Linked DNA regions of Homo sapiens: all the other regions are linked to region 1. Evidence: promoter capture Hi-C in human tissues and cell types (Jung and others, 2019). All regions are on one chromosome and are shown on one strand. Each heading gives the region's core, a stretch centred on a gene start or on the middle of the fragment in contact. The rest is flanking DNA. Distances are from core to core; before and after follow the strand shown. Region 1 has its middle 11 kb from the start of ZNF749. Region 2 holds the start of ZNF71 (zinc finger protein 71). Region 3 holds the start of ZSCAN1 (zinc finger and SCAN domain containing 1).

Evidence for each region. Contacts are between HindIII fragments. The study calls those that stand out against the background at their distance.
Region 2: a contact is called between the fragment with the promoter of ZNF71 here and a fragment that was not itself captured in region 1, in 1 of the 25 tissues and cell types used here (dorsolateral prefrontal cortex).
Region 3: the fragment with the promoter of ZSCAN1 here is called in contact with a fragment that was not itself captured in region 1 in 3 of the 25 tissues and cell types used here (dorsolateral prefrontal cortex, pancreas and stomach).

What each region holds. Positions count from the first base shown.
Region 1 is chr19:57,422,370-57,426,313 of GRCh38, reverse strand. No RefSeq gene overlaps it. Among named protein-coding and RNA genes, the nearest start is that of ZNF749, 11 kb to the left of the region's middle. The HindIII fragment of the contact is 4,324 bases long and covers 1-3,864 here.
Region 2 is chr19:56,593,101-56,597,044 of GRCh38, reverse strand. It overlaps ZNF71 (zinc finger protein 71), which reads right to left and starts at 1,743. Exons shown (of 4, transcript NM_001370215.1): 1 at 1,617-1,743. It overlaps ZNF71-SMIM17 (ZNF71-SMIM17 readthrough (NMD candidate)), which reads right to left and starts at 1,743. Exons shown (of 5, transcript NR_163263.1): 1 at 1,617-1,743. RefSeq lists a silencer at 1,392-1,781. The HindIII fragment of the contact is 26,997 bases long and covers 1-3,944 here.
Region 3 is chr19:58,031,913-58,035,856 of GRCh38, reverse strand. ZSCAN1 (zinc finger and SCAN domain containing 1) reads right to left here and starts at 1,832. Exons shown (of 6, transcript NM_182572.4): 1 at 1,696-1,832. The HindIII fragment of the contact is 19,074 bases long and covers 1-3,944 here.

The DNA.
Region 1 (3,944 bases), core at 453-2,952:
AGTATTTGAAAACCACATATCTGAGAAGGAATATCTAGAATATGAGGGGTCTTCAAAAGTTTCATGAAAAATGAGAAAAAAATGTATATTATGAAAAAATTGGCCAGGGGTGGTGGCTTAAGCCTGTAATCACAGCACTTTGTGAGGCCCAGGCAGGTGGATCACCTGAGGTCAGGAGTTCGAGAGCAGCCTGGCCAACAGAGTGAAAACCCATCTCTACTAAAAATACAAAAATTAGCTGGGCGTGATTGTGGGCACCTGTAATCCCAGCTACTCAAGAGGCTGAGGCAGGAGAATTGCTTGAACCCAGGAGGCGGAGGTTGCAATGAGCCGAGATCATGCCACTGCACTCCAACCTAGCGTTAGTGAGACTCTGTCAAAAAAAAAAAAAAAAATTATGTATGGATTTCAATTTTTTACACCAAAGTGAATTTGTAATAACTTGTTCTAACAAGTATGAACAGGATCTAGTTTGAGGCACTAAGAACGGCATCAGTTTGAAAACACCTTCTATCAGAGGAATGTGAATTCAGCTAAGGTTGAAGAAAGAACAAATATCAAATATATAGTAAAGCTTGGCTCTAAAAATGGTAAAACCGGCCGGGTGCGGTGGCTCGCGCCTGTAATCCCAGCACTTTGGGAGGCCGAGTTTGGGCGGATCACAAGGTCAGGAGTTCAAGACCATTCTGACCAATATGGTGAAACCCCATCACTACTAAAAATACAAAAATTAGCCGGGCGTGGTGGCGCATGCCTGTAATCCCAGCTACACAGGAGGCTGAAGCAGAAGAATCGCTTGAACCCAGGAAACGGAGGTTGCAGTGAGCTGAGATCGCGCCACTGCACTCCAGCCCAGACGACAGAGTGAGACTCCGTCTCAAAAAAAAGAAAAAGAAAAGTTTATGGGCACAATGACCCAGAGAAATCAGAGTTTACAAACTGATAACCTGTTTTCTTTTTTTTTAGACGGAGTCTCACTCTGTCGCCCATGCTGGAGTGCAGTGGCACGATCTCCACTCACTGCAACCTCCGCCTCCCGGGTTCACGCCATTCTCCTGCCTCAGCCTCCGGAGTAGCTGGGAGTACAGGCGCCCGCCACCACGCCCGGCTAATTTTTTGTATTTTTAGTAGAGACGGGGTTTCACTGTGTTAGCCAGGATAGTCTCGATCTCCTGACCTCATGATCCACCAGCCTCGGCCTCCCAAAGTGCTGGGATTACAGGCGTGAGCCACCGCGCCCGGCCTGATAACGTTTTAAGAAGAGATGAGATGATGTTGACCACGCAGCCCACAATGGCAAACCATTAATAACAATTTGCGAGGAAGAAATTCATCTTGCTCATGACCTTATTGAAGAAGACTGATGATTAACAGCAGAAACAGTAACTGACACCACAGACATCTGAATTGGTTCAGCTTACACAATTCTGACTGAAAAATTAAAGTTGTGCGAACTTTCCACTCAATGGGTGCCAAAGCCACTGAATCCAGATCAGCTGCAGACAAGAGCAGAACCTTCAATGTAAATGTTAAACAAGTAGGATCAAGATGCTGAAGCATTTCTTTGAAGAATTGTACAGATGAAACATGGCTTTATTATTAATTACTATTTGAGATGGAGTTTCACTCTTGTTGCCCAGGCTGGAGTGCAATGGTGTGATCTCGGCTCACTGCCACCTCCGCCTCCCGGGTTCAAGCGATTCTCCTGCCTCAGCCTCCTGAGTAGCTGGGATTACAGGCATGCACCACCTCGCCAGGCTAATTTTTGTATTTTTTAGTAGAGAGGGGGGTTTCTCCATGTTGGTCAGGCTGGTCTCAAACTCCTGAGCTCAGATGATCCGCCCAACTCGGCCTCCCAAATTGCTGGGATTACAGACGTGAGCCACGGCGCCCGCAATGAGAGTGTTTTGAGAAAGTTAGCTAAAGCTTTAGCAGAAAACCCATGGGAAAGCTTCACCAGGAGTCCTTCACTTCAATGCTCCTGCTCATTCCTCTCATCAAATAACTGCAACTTTACAAGAATTCTGATAACCCTAAGGCATCCACCTTACAGTCCGGATTTGGCTCCTTCTGACTTCTTGTTTCCTACTTTTAAAAAATCTTTAAAGGGCACCCATTTTTCTTTAGTTAATATTAAAAAAGATTGCATAGACAAGGTTAAATTCCCAGGAACCTCACTTCTTTAGGGATGGACTAAATGCCTGGTATCATCACTTATAAAATTGTCTTGAACTTGATGGAGCTTATGTTGAGAAATAAAACTTGTTTTCTTTTTGTATCCTTTACTTTCATGTTTCCACAAACTTTCTGAAGTCCCCACATATACTAAAAAACTCCTACATCTCAAAACCAAATAACCCTAAAGAAAAAAAAAAAACTCAACCCAGTAAAACTACTAAAAAAAAAAATTAATAATAAAGTTAAATTAAAAAATGATGCAGCTGCTATAGAAGAGTCCTCAAAAATTTTAAAACAGAATTAACATAGAATGGGAACATTGTGAGTCAGAAATTTAAAAAATTAAAAATATTTTTTAAATGAACATAGGGGGACAGGTGAGTGGATCATGAGGTCGAGATTGAGACCATCCTTGCCAACACGGTGAAACCCCGTCTCAACTAAACATACAAAAATTATCTGGGCATGGTGGTGCATGCCTGTAGTCCCAGCTACTTGGGAGGCTGAGGCAGGAGAACTGCTTGAACCCCGGAGGCAGAGGCTGCAGTGAGCTGAGATCAGGCCACTGTACTCCAGCCTGGCGACAGAGCGAGACTCCCGTCTCAAAAAACAAACAAACAAACAAACAAACAAAAAAAAAACATAGAAAGCACCAATTCTACTTCTGAGTAAATCCTCAAAAGGAATTTAAAGCACAGCCTCAAAGAAACATTTGTACATTCATGCTCATCTGCTATTAACAACAGCTGAGTGGAAACAACCCAAATGTCCACTAATGAAAGGAAAAGTGGCACATACATATATAATCATGCACCTCACTTTTCAGTCAACAATGGGCCACATTCATGACAGTGGTTCCATAAAATTACAATGAAGCTGAAAAATGCTTATTGCCTAATGACATGATAGCAGTAGTAAGGCAATATATTAATCACATATTCATGGTGATGCTGGTATAAACAAACCTACTGTGAGGCCAGTCATATAGAAGTATAACATATACAATAATGTACAGTAGATAAAACTTACGAGTTACTAGCTTATGTTCTTAGCATACTACACTTTTTATCATTAGGTGTTCTCCAACAGTAGAGTATATATGGAGTTGTGTGTATGTCTATAAATATACAGGTGTACATACACACAAACTGTAACACAGCCTCGGGCAGGTCCTTCAGGAGGTATTCCAGAAAAAGGCATTGTTATTTTAGATGACAGCTCCATGTGTGTTACTGTCCCAGAAGATCTTCTGGAACAGGTTGTGAAGGTGGAATAAAATGACATTATCCTGATCCTGTGCCGGCCTAGACAAATGTGTGTATCTTAGTTTTTAACAAAAAAAATTTAAGAAGTTAGGATATAAAAAATATTTTTGTACAGTTGTACAATGTTTTAAGCAAAACATTATTACAAAAGTCAAAAAGTTTTTAAAAATACAAGCTTATAAAGTAAAAAATGGTCAGCTAAGGTTAATATATTAAAGAAAAATTTCTATAAATTTAATTTTGTCCAGCCGGGCACGGTGGCTCATGCCTGTAATCCCAGCACTTTGGGAGGCCAAAGCGAGTGGCTCACTTGAGGTCGGGAGTTTGAGACCAGCCTGGCCAACATGGTAAGACCCCGTTCTCTACTAAAAATACAAAAATTAGCGGGGCATGGTGGTGCATGCCTGTAATCCCAGACACTTGGGAAGCTGAGGCAGAACTGCTTGAACCAGGAGGTGGAGGAGGTTGCAGGAAGCCAAGATTGCACCACTGCACTCTAGT
Region 2 (3,944 bases), core at 494-2,993, 830 kb after region 1:
AGGGGCCCATGAAGGCAAAGTACCCTTAAAAATCATGCAGCGGCCCTGGAAGTGACTTGCCCAAGAGTATGGCCAGTGGCTGTTGAACCCAGTTTGGCCTTAGATCTGGATTCTTCTTCCTCTGAGCTTTTTGGCATTTCCTTCCTTTCTTCCATTTCCATTGTTTCCAAGCGGGGATTCCCTCGGGGAAAATCCTGCAACCTTGTGTCAGCTGAGCGGAAAGGGAAAAAAGGGATCTCCCATTTGTCTGGTGGTTAATTGTGGGGGCTCTGGAACCTGGATGCCTGAGGTAGCCTTGGGTGAGTCACTTAGTCTGAGACTCAGTTTCCCCATCTGTAAGATAAGGATGATGATGGTCTCTACCTCAGAGTTACTGGGACATCTATAAATGGCCAGCACTGGCTGCATACACATTCCCTGAACAAATCAACCTCTCCTTGGTCAGAACAGAGTAGGGCACAGAGACCCTTTGGGAGTCTGATCCCACTTTAAGAAGATCCTGTGGGAGGCAGAAGAAACAGCCTTCCTTTTCCCCTCCTCCACCCGGCCCCTGTCACTCCCAGGCCCCTACGCCTCCAGAGCCTTCTATGGGCAGGAAAAAGCCAGGGAACTGTGGGCAGGCAGACTAGGAGAAGCGTAGGGTGAGAAGGTAGTGGCTCTGCTAGGCTCCCTTGTCCAGGCATATAGTCTTTGGAAGAGGCACACCCAGACGCACCCACCCCTGCAGAGTCACACGCAAACATCAAGAAATACTCTAGACACAGGTGGACACACAGAGATAGGAAAGATCCAGACAGGACTGGCCCCTGGAAAGACACAGCCCTACACTCATGCCAAGAGACATGCATGGAAAGAGCAGACATAGTGGACACCCAGAGGGCACCCTCCCACAGAGACACTCATGGACAGAGATCAAGGCTGACACACCCACAACACCAAAGACAAGGACACAGGCAGTCACTCAGAGATATCACCACACATGCATAGGCAGAGACCTGGAGAGACACAGCTCCACAGAGAGACCAAGACTCTGAAGAAGTGGGACACACACACACACACGCTACCACACATGACCCACACGGACATACATGGACACATTCACATTCATTCACAGACCCAGCCTCTGGACGACACGCAGTTTCTCTCTCTGTCTCATACACACACACACACACACACACACACACACACACAAACACACACACACAATCACAATATCCAGAGACACAGCCATACCCTCAGGACGACACAATCTGTCTCACACACACATACAGACCCACACAGACACACACACAGACACATTCACAATATCCACAAAGACACAGCCTCATCCTCAGGATGATATGCACTGCCTGTCTCTCACACAGGCCACCTTCCCCCCAGGATGGCCCTCGTGTTCATGCAACTTTCCTACCTCCAACCCACTCACGCCTCTCCCTCCCTGGCCCCGGCCTCTCCTCAGCCCCTCAGCCTCCAGTCAGCCTCTCCTTAGCCCCTCAGCTTCCCCTCAGCCTCTCCTCGGCCGCTCAGCCTCTCCAGGCGCACCTCGGTCCCGGCCTGCACGCCCTCTCCTGCGCCCGCACGCCCTGGACCAGCACCCAGCCCTGCACTCCCCGTACCTGGGCCTGCACGCCGTCTCCCCGAGGCCGCGCCCTCCCCGGGGCCAGGTTCCGGCCCCCGGCACAGGTAGAGGGTGGGCGCGACCCCGCAGCCACACTCACCGGCTCGCCGCTCTGCCAGGACAATGACCGCGCCCGCTAGGCCCGCCCGACGGCAGTGCGCCTGCGCGGACTGCGCCGGACTACGCTTCCCAGAAACCCGCGCGCGCCACCTCCCCCCGGCTTTTTTCAGCCGAGCCCAGCCGAGTGGAGCCGAGCGGAGCCAACTGAGCTCCTCCATCTCACAGAGGACTCCGCGGCCAAGGAGGCTGGGGCGAGAGGGAGGATTGAGGGGGAGGAGGCAGGGAAAGGGAAGGAGAGAGAAGAGACGGAGGGAGGAAGGGTGGAAAGAAAGACGGAGGGAAAGGAGGGGCGAGGAGGAGGGACAGGAGGGAAGGGGGGAGGAGGGAGAAAAGAAGTAGGAGAGGTGGGAAGAAGGATGGAAGGGGAGGAGGGATGGGGAGGAGCGGGGAGAAGAGAGAGGATGGAGAGGGACTTGGGGAGGAGAGCTGGGGAGGAAGAAGAAGAGATGGAGAAGGAGGAGGGGTTGGAAGAAGGATGGAGGGGAAGGAGGAAGGGCTGGGGAGAGACTAAGGGAAAAGAACAGGTCAGAGAGGAGAGGAACCAACAGAAAGAAGAGGGAGCGGGTGGGAGGAGGGAGGGGCAGGGAGGCAGGAAAGGAAGAGAATGGAGACGGCAAGGAGGAGAAGGAAGAAAGGGTGGAAAGGGGGATGAGAAGGTGGAAAGGACTATAAGGAAGAAGAAAAGGGTGGGAAAAGGAGGAAAGAAAGAGGAAGTCGAGTTGGGGAGGGCAGGACAGGCTGAAGAGAGGAAAGAATGGGTAAGGAGAGGGAGGAGGGAGGAAGGAAAACAGAAAAGGACAAGGGATGGGTGGAGGCAGAGAAATGAGGGGGATAAAAGAGGCGTGTCACATCTGCTGCAGACATTTCTGCAGTCCAGCCAATGGACTGGCCTGAGGGACCATCCCAGGCAACTTTAAACCTGATAATCATGCTTATCTTTAAAGAACACTTTTTAAGCATACAGATGTGCAAAGAAGAAAATGAGCATAGGTGTAGAATAAAATGTATAGGAGACTATCGGTTTGGACTGAGTTCCTGCACTAGGCCCAACAGATCAAATCGAAATGGAGCTACTCATGCTGAAGTTCCAGGCCACCAACTCCAACTAAGTTGTTACCTGACCTCCTCTCAGGAGAGAAAGAGAGAGATAATAGCCAAGTCCCAAACAGGCCAGTTTAGCAGGCATGATAAAAGAAATCCCCTTTGCTTTAACCATGATAGGGAAAGTAACTTTGAAATGACCCATCCACTCTTGTTCTCTGTTTCTGCTTTCCTCAGCCCGTTTCTGTGTATGAAGCCATATTCCTCTGCTTGGATCACCAGAACACTAGTTCTATTTTATAGAAGGAGGTGTGGCTGGATTCTAGAATTGCAAATAAAAAACAACTAGATCTTTAAATGTCAATTCCCTATATCTTTAGATATAAGAAAAAAAGCATTAATCCTTGTTGTGAGTTTCCTTTGTTCTGACCCCTGGTCTCCACATTTTATGATTTATAAACAATCTTCACAGCCAAGCTACTTTCCAGATTAGTTGGGTAATACAGACAGGGGAGCTTACACAAGAGGAAAGGTAGGAACCAGATGCCTGGCTGAGACCCTTTTCTATAGTAAACCACAAAGCCAAGTTTAAAAACATTTGCTGAATGTCCAAGTGGCCACAAAACCATCAACAGCAGCTAGCCTTAGGTGGTGATTAATGATGTATTTAAATGAAATATTTTATTCTGAGATAAATGTGGATTTATTCACGTCAGGTTGTAAAACATAATATAGAAATCATACAGAGAGACCTATGTCTCTTAGGTAATTTCACCCAAGGGCAACATCTTGCAATATCACAAGTAGGATACTGACGTCGGTCCATTCAAGAGACAGAACATTTCCATCACAAGGATCTCTTCCGATATTTCCACAAGGATCCTTCATCTTGCCCTTTTATAGCCACACTCACTTTCCTCCAGACTCGATCATTAGTCTATCCTCCATATATACAATTGTGTCATTTCAAGAATGTTATACAAATGGAATCATACAGTATGTGAATGGTGGAATTGGCTTTTTTCATTCAGCACAATTCTCTGGAGATATATTCAAGTTGCTGTATAGAGAGAACTTAATTATCTTGCATAACAGAAACTTTATACTCGTTGAGTAACGTCTTCTCACCTCCCCCAGCCCCTGGAAACCACCATTCTAATTTCTG
Region 3 (3,944 bases), core at 583-3,082, 610 kb before region 1:
CTTCATCCTCTGCTGCATTTTTCATACACTCTGCAGTTCTCGTGCATCTGGTTTTACAATCCAGGAGAAAGGAGAGGTGCAGGGTGGCAGAAAGGCAACTCACGGGGACTGTGCCCAGCCAGCCATCTTCGAGTCAGCGTACCCGGCCACCTGCACCCTGATTGGGAAACTACCAGCTTGGTCTTCCCTGCCAAGGCCACAGGCAAAAATGCTCTCTTATGTTGTATTCACACTTTTATATATGTAGTTTTGAATAAGAAAAAAGGGCCTATTTTGAAGCTCCACAGGTTCAAGAAATCCCTTTGCCCTGGGGCCTCAGACCTTATACTCTCTCAGGTGCTCATGGCAGCTCACCCTGGAGACTCTAGGGAGGGGGGCTGTAGCCCCTCAGCATCCTCCAGGGTCCTGGGCTGAGGTCTGTGGGAGGAGATGCTAAGTTTATCAGGGATGAGGGTAAAGAGGAGGTCTTAGCAGAAGGCACCAGAGGTCCATGGGTGTGTCTGGGGTCTATATGGGGGCTGATGTGGAACACCTAGGCCAATGTGGGGGTACCTGAGCTGATGAGAGTCCTGGACTGATGGGTGGCTGTTTCTGGAAGATGAAGAGGGCCTGGGATGATGTGAAGGGGACTGAGGTCTACATGGCTGGTGAGGAGGATCTGGGCCCCCCCATGGGCAATGCTGTGGTGGCCCTGGGGTCCTAGAAGTCTACTTTGGTAGGGGTCTCTGATTAATGTTGGGGATGTGTGTGTGTGAGAGAGTGTCACTTGGAGGGCTCAGTGCCTGTGGAAGGGCCAGGTTCACCTGGCATGGGCACTGAGATCTGCAGCCCGAGCCCCAAATTCTATTGCGGGGATGGGCAGAAGGGCTTTGCCGCTGATGCCGGATGCTTAGTGACATAGAAGACGTGTTCACTGCGCCAGTCAGTGAATGGTTCTGGCTTTGAGAAGGGGGCTTACAGTGGGGAGGGCGTTGGGAGCTTAGGATGCCACACGGAGGAGTTCCATAATAAACGAGCTGGGGAAGTGTGCAAGGGCAGCGCACTGGGAATACAGGGGAGGGGCAGCGACGACGGCTGTGGACGGCTGGTTGGGGGGAGGATGGTGGGGTGATTGGGTGGGGGATGGGTCGGGGGCGGCTGTTCAGGAGGGAGATGGGCCTGGGGCGGGGAGGGGGAGCTTGTAGGGAGAGAGACGGGTCGGGGGCTGCTGTTCCAGTGGGGGATGGGCCCAAGGGGCCGGGTAGGGAGGGAGATGGGTCCGGGGGCGGCTGTTCAGGAGGGAGATAGGTCCCGGGATGCTGATCAGGTGTGGAAGGGAGAACTTGGACGCGGCCGAGCGGTGTTTGGGCGGGCAATGGGGGTACGTAGAGGGGCTTCGGCCTCAAACGGACAGGCGGATGCCAACAGGGGTCGGGGTCCCTGCGGAAGGGGCGGCCCCAGCCCCCCCAGTCCCCGCCCCGCGTGGCCTCTAGCCTTCCCCTTCCCTCCCCTACGGCGACCTCAGGACTCCCGATGGGCTCTGGAACCCCGGCCCGGCCCGCCCCCTCCCGGGCCCGGGCCCGCCTCCCCCGACGCGCGCCCCTGGACCGCGATCCCGGGCCAGCTCCCGCCGACGCGGCGCCGAGACCCTCCCGGGTGGGCGTCCCGATGGACGCTCTGGCGGGCGGAGGGACGGATGGGCCGCGGCGGACTCACCGCGCGCGGGCTTCGCTCGGGCCTGGGCCACTCGGTCATGGCGACCCCTGGGCTGGCGAGCGCGCCCAACGCCGCGGGCGGACCCCATCCCCGCACCCTGCGCGCCGCGGGCGGCCGCCATTGGTCCGCTGGATCACGCCGGGCGTCGGTGACAAGTCACCGCTGCGGGACTCCCGGGCAGGGGCGGGGCTGTGACGCACGAGGCGGCCGAGGCCAATCAGAAGCCGCCTGGGATGAGCGCCCCGCCCCCGCCGTGCCCTCCAGTTACCTCGGGCCGCGGTTCCAGTCGCCTTGGCAACGGGTCGCGCAGCGTCAGGGACGCTGCTGCGGAAAGTGGAGACGGTGGCGGCTGCGGGGATGCGCATGTACGATGGGGCCGCGGGGCAAAACGACGGCATTCCAGACACGCAACCGTTTTATACAGTGTCCAAGAGTAGTATGTTAAAACATTGTTTTTAATATAAATATGTTTAGTACAAGTATGTCCCAGACTAGGATCGCCACTCTTAGCAAATAAAAATACAGGACGTCGGCCGGGCGCGGTGACACGCCTGTAATCCCAGCACTTTGGGAGGCCAAGGCAGGCGGATCACGAGGTCATGAGTTCGAGACCAGCCTGACCAATATGGTGAAACCCCCGTCTCTACTAAAAATACAAAAATTACCTGGGCGTGGTGGCGCATGCCTGTAATCCCAGTTTCTCAGGAGGCTGAGACAGGAGAATCACTGGAACCGGGGAGGCGGAGGTTGCAGTGAGCCGAGATTGCTCCATTGCACTCCAGTTTTCCAGCGTGGGTGACAGAGCGAGACTCCGTCCCCCCACCCCCAAAAAAAAGAAAGAAAAAAGAAACCTCAGTTATATGTAAACTCAAGAAAAACAAGGAGGCCGGGCGCGATAGCTCACGCCTGTAATCCCAGAACTCGGGAGGCCGAGGCAGGCGGATCACCTGAGGTCGGGTGTTTCAGACCAGCCTGGCCAACATGGTGAAACCCCGTCTCTACTAAAAATACAAAAATTAGCCAGGCATGGTGGTGCGTGCCTGTAATCCCAGCTACTCGGGAGGCTGAGGTAGGAGAATCGCTGGAACTGGGGAAGCCGAGGTTGCAGTGAGCCGAGACCTGCCAACGCACTCCAGCCTTGCCTGGGCAACAGAGTGAGACTCTGTCTCAAAAAAAAAAAAAAAAAAAAAAAAAGAAAGAAAGAAAAAGAAAAACAAGGAATTAGTATCAATGTGTCCTATATTTCATATACTTTAACGAAACCTTACATAAGAACATTTCATATAAATAAGTTTTAATATTAATGTCTACAATGTAACCATGTGCCAGAATAGTAGGGTTCCACAGATACTCGTTTTGTATCTGAAATCAGGTGGGGGTGAGATCATGATGCAAGGAGGGTCCTCAGCTCTGGGACTGAGCTCAGGATAGCTGAAGCTGCTCATTGCTGAAGAAGAAGCAGGAGAGTGTGAGCTAAGAAAAGAGAGGAGGACCCACCTCCAGGGGGTCCAGCATCTGCTGGACAGCTGTTTATTGAGGGCCTATGTGTACCAGGCACTGTTCTGGACACTGGGGTGGGAGCACATCAGTGAGAGGGACTGATAGGGCTTTAGTCCCTTGGAAGCCCATGTTCATGGGGCAAACACCAGTAAACAAAGCAGATGCTTCATGGAAATATAAATACCTAGAATAAAATAAAACGAGGCCTGGAGATTAAGAGTCCCAGGAGTGGCAGGGAGGGGAGGGGCTGCCTCAGCTGGATAATCAGAGCCGTGTCTCCGCATCTTTGCTGCTGGCGGCTGGTCCCTGGAATGTTGTGTGTGAATGCCACTTTGTGCAGAAACCACTATGGGAAAACCAAATTAGGGTGCTAAGGGCTTATTATTCTCCTTCTTGAAAATTAGGCACTTGTAATGACATGGTTCATTTTCTTGGTAGCTGAAATTGGCGTGGCCCTTTGGGGCAGTGAAGGCTCATGTGTGCATTTATAACTGCCACCCATTTGGGAAATCTCCCTTGAGAGAACACTGACTTAGTCTGTCTCTAGAGTCTGGATCTAGACACCATCATAGGCCACCTGGTAACTCTAGATCCATTGGGAGGCAGCCTGGTGTCTAGCAGAGGTTTCAGTTTTTTTTTGTTTGTTTGTTTTGTTTTTTTTAAAAAGAGTCTTGCTCTTGTTGCCCAGGCTGGAGTGCAAAGGCGTGATCTTGGCTCACTGCAACCTCCACCTCTCGGGTTCAAGTGAT